Linked DNA regions of Homo sapiens: region 2 is linked to region 1. Evidence: promoter capture Hi-C in 16 types of primary human blood cells and fetal thymus (Javierre and others, 2016). All regions are on one chromosome and are shown on one strand. Each heading gives the region's core, a stretch centred on a gene start or on the middle of the fragment in contact. The rest is flanking DNA. Distances are from core to core; before and after follow the strand shown. Region 1 holds the start of GPD2 (glycerol-3-phosphate dehydrogenase 2). Region 2 overlaps CYTIP (cytohesin 1 interacting protein).

Region 1 (2,700 bases), core at 177-2,676:
CCAGACTGACTCATTGGACTTGGGGATGGAAATCTGGCATTCCACCCCTCCCTGCCCCCTCCCCCCAATTTTAATGTGTCCAAGGGTGAGAATCATTGCTCCTCTGTGGACTATGGATGGTTCCCTGAAGTTACTGAGTTTGGGATTTAATAAATATATGCATTCCTCTGGGTCAACTACAGGAATTCTGCGGTATTTAAGGACATTAAATGAGTGACTTAATACTTTATTTAAAAAAATACCACTGCTTTTTGGTTCACACTAATTTTCTTCCTTCTTTTGGAAAGGCATTTCCGTCCATCTCCTGGATATTTTCCAATACCACGATAGAAAGGTTATTAGTACAGCACCCAGAGGTCTTCGGAGCAAAGCTGTTAAAGAAGTGGGGTCCATTTGAGCCCCAACTTTGCCTTCCTTAGGTCCCCTTGGGCTTGTCTAGCCCTAGGAGTTCCAACAAGTAAGCTGGGCATGCTCAGTGGGCAGGGTCGTTTTTTTTTTTTGGGTGGCGGGGGGTTGCAAGTGGGAAGCCTGCTGTTCAGCTGCCGGGGCTCTCCGCCTCCCCCCACCTGTATGAGGCTGGGTCTGGGGAACCTGTGCTCAGCATTCCACCCCCTGGAGCTTGGGCTTGGTCTTCCCTGCGGGTCCCTGCGCTGACATTCAGGCGGGGAGCCAGGAGGCCTGGCGCGCCTCCAGAGCCCGCCGGGGGAGCCGGGCGAGGGTTCTGGGCTCTGACGGCGGGGTCGCAGGGTCGCCCGCCTCCTGGACACGTCTGTAGGCCTAGGGAAGCCTGCCGGCCGGGAGGTACAGAGTAGGAGAAGCCAGATCCCAGGGCGGACAACGAGAAGTCGTCAGGTAAGCCAGCCCCGCCAGCGTGCCGGCGGACGAGTGTCTCCTCTCCCGCAGGCAGATGGCCAGGGCGGCCCGCATGGGCGAGGGCACAGGAAATCGGACACCGCCACCGTCTTCCCCAGCCTGGCCTAGCTCAGGCTTTCCAGTCCGCCAGCCCGCTGGCAAGGCGGGGCGGAGGTCTGGAGTCCGGCATCGCCGAGGCACAAAGCAGGAACTGCAGCCAGGGGCGAGGGCCCTTGCGTGTGGCGCTGCGCGACCCCACCCGGCGGCAGGACCCGCGTCCCCGTCTAGTCACGTTCATTGGGCCACGGAGACCACCTCGCTCGCCGCCCGCTGTTGGCTTTTCCCTCCCACACCCCCGCCAACCCCGGCCCCGGTTCCCGCCCCCACTTCCGCGTTTCCCCGCTGGGCCGGAGGAGCCTGGGCCCGAGGTATCCGGGCAGGAGGTGGCGGCCTCGCCGCCCTGGTCAGGCCTCCGGGAGGGAGCAGGCGCGGGAGCGGGAGGAGGAAGTCGGGAAGAGGGAAGGCGGGGGCGCGGCCCGCCCGGCGCTCGAGTTACACCCGCCCAGCCCGCCTCGAGTGACAGCCCCGCGCGCCTCGCTGGGAGCACCCGGGCCGAGGCTCTGATTCTGGGGGGAGGCCGACTCCACCCTGGCTGGAGGAACTGGGTGCTCCTGCCCGCTGGCCCCTCGCGCGTGAGGATCTATCTCAGGTGTGTGCTTCCTGGGAGACCCCTTCCCCCGCCTCTAGTATTCTAGGGGGGGAGTGGTCCCTTTCTGACCCGGGCGAGTGTTCTGGGACTCCAGTCTTGGCGGTAGGTGGTGGCGGGAAACGGGAAAGATTTAGAATTTCTTCCCACCAGCAGAAGATGGATTCGCTCTTCTCTAGGGTTTCGTTGTTTATGTTTTGGAGGCGGCATTTGTAAAATAGTAAAGTGGCAGGACTTTTGGGGCGAGGGTTGGTACCCCATTGAAAGTTCATGCAAACTTTTAGCTTGTAGATGCGGCTAGTCTGATAAGGATTGTTGCTCCCTTCCGAAGCAAGAGTGAGAACGAGTCTGGAGGAGGGCTGAGGCTTCTTTGAGAAACTCAGCTGCTGGCGTGTGACCGTCCTAGGAGGAAATGGAAGGTGCACACTGATAACTTAAAACAGCCTCCACTCCCTATGTAGTAACTTCTACCAGCAAAAATAGATTTGCAAAGAGTGCTTTGGCAGGAAGGTGTAGCTGGGTGAATGAAGTGCTGCTCTTAGCAGATGGTCTCTAGTCTGGCTTCCACCTTGTGCAGTGGAATATTCACTCCCAGAAGAGTTCCAGAGTAATTTACAAACACAAATTCTTGCAAAGTGTTAGTGACATGGGCAACCCAAATCACACACAACACATTATAAATATCATAGGAGGCAGCTATAGAAATAGCAGCTAGTCAACTTATACTTGTATAAATAGGTGAGGGAAGGAAGTTAGTAAGTGACAGGGAGTCTTTATTGCTAAAACAAAACTGTTAGTATTTTGCATGTGTTCCAAGTTTAAAGAGATGTGAAGTTTCTTTTTGGCGTGTGGACGGTGCTGGCAGCTGTCACACTGGGCCCAGGCACTTCTTCGTAGCTACTGACCACTCTAGTCCCAGTCCTACAGTTCTTGCTGGCTACCACATGACATCTGGATGCCATTGCCCAATGGAGACCGTGTGCAGTCTGGGGAACCTTGTGATGTGGATGTTGAAACCCCCCTCTGTTTCTCACAGGGGCGTTATGTCAAATTACAACACTCCCTTGACTTTTACAAATCAACTCGTGAAATAATACAGCAATATTTTAATGAATAAATGGGTAAATATGGGGTTTTGGGTT
Region 2 (2,869 bases), core at 282-2,781, 1.0 Mb after region 1:
CTGGGCTTCAACTCACTTATATCGCAATGGAGACTGAAATAAATTGCTCAGACCCAAAAAGATTCTCTAGTCTTGCTAAAAAGTATCTCTTTTCAATTTATAAGCACTAACTGTGGAATGCCTACAAGGATTGGTATGGTTTGTTGTAACCTGATTTTGTACCTCGTATGTACCGTTACCAAGGATAGGGACTATTCATCTATGTTAGTGGGCTTCCTTGCAGAAGAGAGCCACAAACTTGATATTTCCAAGCATTCTCAGTCTCTCCCTTATATTGTACTCATATTTTCTTAATCTATTTTTATTATCTTCAGCTGCTTGTTTTCCGCCCTTAAGCCAAATTACGTAATGATAACTAGGGCTTTTTTATTCTTTTTATAAAAGTTTCTTATACCTCTATAAATAAGGGCTTATATTTTTAAGGTATTACTCTTGCTATCAGTATTCATCATATTATTCATATATCCATATAGAGAGAGCTATATATATATGTATACATATATGTATATATTTATATGAAATGCATACTGGATCAAATACTTCACATCTGTACATAATCATCTGTGTGATTTGGACCTCTTGGGGAATGTTATTTGTTTTACTTTCTGCCCCAATGCCCAACACAGGGCCTGGAATAGAATGGAAACTTAAAAATGGAGAAATAGATAAAAATAAATAAACTACTAAACGAAAATGGAAGCAACTGAGATGGTTGAAGAGCCACATTAAATATTCACGTTCAGGAGAAATATGTAAAGATAGTCTTCAACATTGTCCTTTATTAAATTCAATATCATAGGAAAAACTCAAGGATAATCACTAAAATACATAAAGTAAAATTTAAAAATCTTAAATATGTAGCAAGATTTAAAAATGAAAGAAAACAGACAACTGTATATCCATATGCAGAAGAAAGAAACTAGACCATACCTCTCACTCTATACAGAAATCAACTGAAAATAAGTAAATGGATCAAAACCTTCATGTAAAACCTGAGACAATAAAACTACTGGAATAAAACATAGGGGAAAGGCTTTAGCATATTGGATTGGGAAAAAATTTTATGAATAAGACCTTCAAAAAACAGGCAACAAAAGCAAAAATAAACTAATGGGGTTATATTAAACTAAAAAGATTCTGCACAGCAAACAATTAACAGAGTGAAAAGACTACCTGTGGAATGGAAGGAAATATTTGCAAACTACTCATTTATATATCCAGAATATATAATGAACTAAAATACCTCAACAGAAAAAAAAAAATTTAAAAATGGGCAAATGATCTGAACAGACGTTCCTCAAAGGAAGCTATACAAGACTGGGCATGGTGGCTCACACCTGTAATCCCAGCACTTTGGGAGGCCAAGGAGGGTGGATCAACTGAGCTCAGGAGTTCAAGATCAGCCTGGCCAACATGGTAAAACCCCGTCTCTACAAAAATACAAAAATTAGCCAGGCATGATGGCAGGTGCCTGTAATCCCAGATACTAGGGAAGCTGAGTTGGAAGAATCGCTTCAACCCGGGCGGCGGAGGTTGCAGTGAGCTGAGATCATGCCATTGCACTCCAGCCTGGCGACAGAGTGAGACTCCATCTCAAAAAAAAAAAGAAAAAAAAAAAAGAAAGGAAGAAAAAGAAGACATACAAATGGCTAACAAATATATGAAAAAATGCTCAATATCACTCATCATTGGGGTAATGGAAATTAAAACCACAATGAGGTATCATCTCACACCAGTTAGGATAGCTATGATCAAAATGACAATAAATAATAAATGCTGGTGAGGATAAGGAGAAAAGGGAACTTTCATACACTGTTAGTGGGAATGTAAATTAGTACAGCCACTATGGAGAACAGTATGGAGGTCCCTCAAACAACTACAAATAGAACTACCATATGATCCCGCAATCCCACTACTGGGAATTCATCCAAAGGAAAGGAAATCATTATATCGAAGAGACATCTGCACTCCCATGTTTATTACAGCACTATTCACAATAGCCAAGAGATGGCATCAGCCTAGGTGTCCAACAACAGATGAATGGATAAAGAAAATGTGGTATATATACACCATGGAATACAATTCAGCCATAAAAAAGAATGAAATCCTGTCATTCACAGCAACATGGATTGAACTGGAAGACATTATGTTAAGTGAGATAAGCCAGGAATAGAAAGTTAAACACCACATGTTCTCACTCATATGTGGAAGCTAAAAAAAGTTGATCTCATAGAAGTAAAAAGTAGAACAGAGGATACTAGAGGCTGGGAAGGGTTGGGGGAAGAAATGGATAGGGACACACTTGTTAAAGGATAAAAAATTACAGCTAGATAGGAAGAATAAGTTCTAGTGCTCTATACTGTAGGCTAACTATAGTTAACAATAGTATATCATGTACTAGTTTCAAATAGTTAGAAGGAGGATATTCAACAGTCCCAAAATGAAGAAATGATCATTGTGTGAGGGAGGTGATGGATATGCTAATTACTCTGATCTGATCACTGTACATTCCACGTATCAAAACATCACTATGTATACCATGAGTATGTATGATTATATATCAACTGAATAAGTACAAATTTTAAAAACCAAAAAATTTTAAATGAAAGAAAACAGACAAGAACAAAAAAAAAAATTCAATCCGAAACAAGAAATGCAGAAAAAGTACTAACAGAAAACAAAGATAGTAGTGCCTTAGTACATAGCTGCTAAGTGGATGAATGGTGGCAAGAATTAATAAATTATTAGTAAAATTTTGAGCCTTGTCAATTTTAAATACCCTTTTAGTATGCCGGAAATCAGTGCATCTATTAGGAACTTCAAGATTTCATCCAATCGGTCTTTTGAATCAAAAGTCATTCTGGATAGA

Evidence for each region. The method cuts DNA at HindIII sites, captures the fragments that hold promoters and counts their contacts. A CHiCAGO score of 5 or more calls a contact.
Region 2: a fragment that was not itself captured here is called in contact with the fragment with the promoter of GPD2 in region 1 in 3 of 17 cell types (M1 macrophages, M0 macrophages and M2 macrophages); the score reaches 7.2 in M1 macrophages.

The regions. Positions count from the first base shown.
Region 1 is chr2:156,434,953-156,437,652 of GRCh38, forward strand. GPD2 (glycerol-3-phosphate dehydrogenase 2) reads left to right here and starts at 1,427. Exons shown (of 17, transcript NM_000408.5): 1 at 1,427-1,561. RefSeq lists silencers at 529-698, 1,139-1,548 and an enhancer at 939-988. The HindIII fragment of the contact is 5,965 bases long and covers 1-2,700 here.
Region 2 is chr2:157,436,104-157,438,972 of GRCh38, forward strand. The region is part of intron 1 of CYTIP (cytohesin 1 interacting protein); the gene reads right to left. Among named protein-coding and RNA genes, the nearest start is that of CYTIP, 6.6 kb to the right of the region's middle. The HindIII fragment of the contact is 4,220 bases long and covers 1-2,869 here.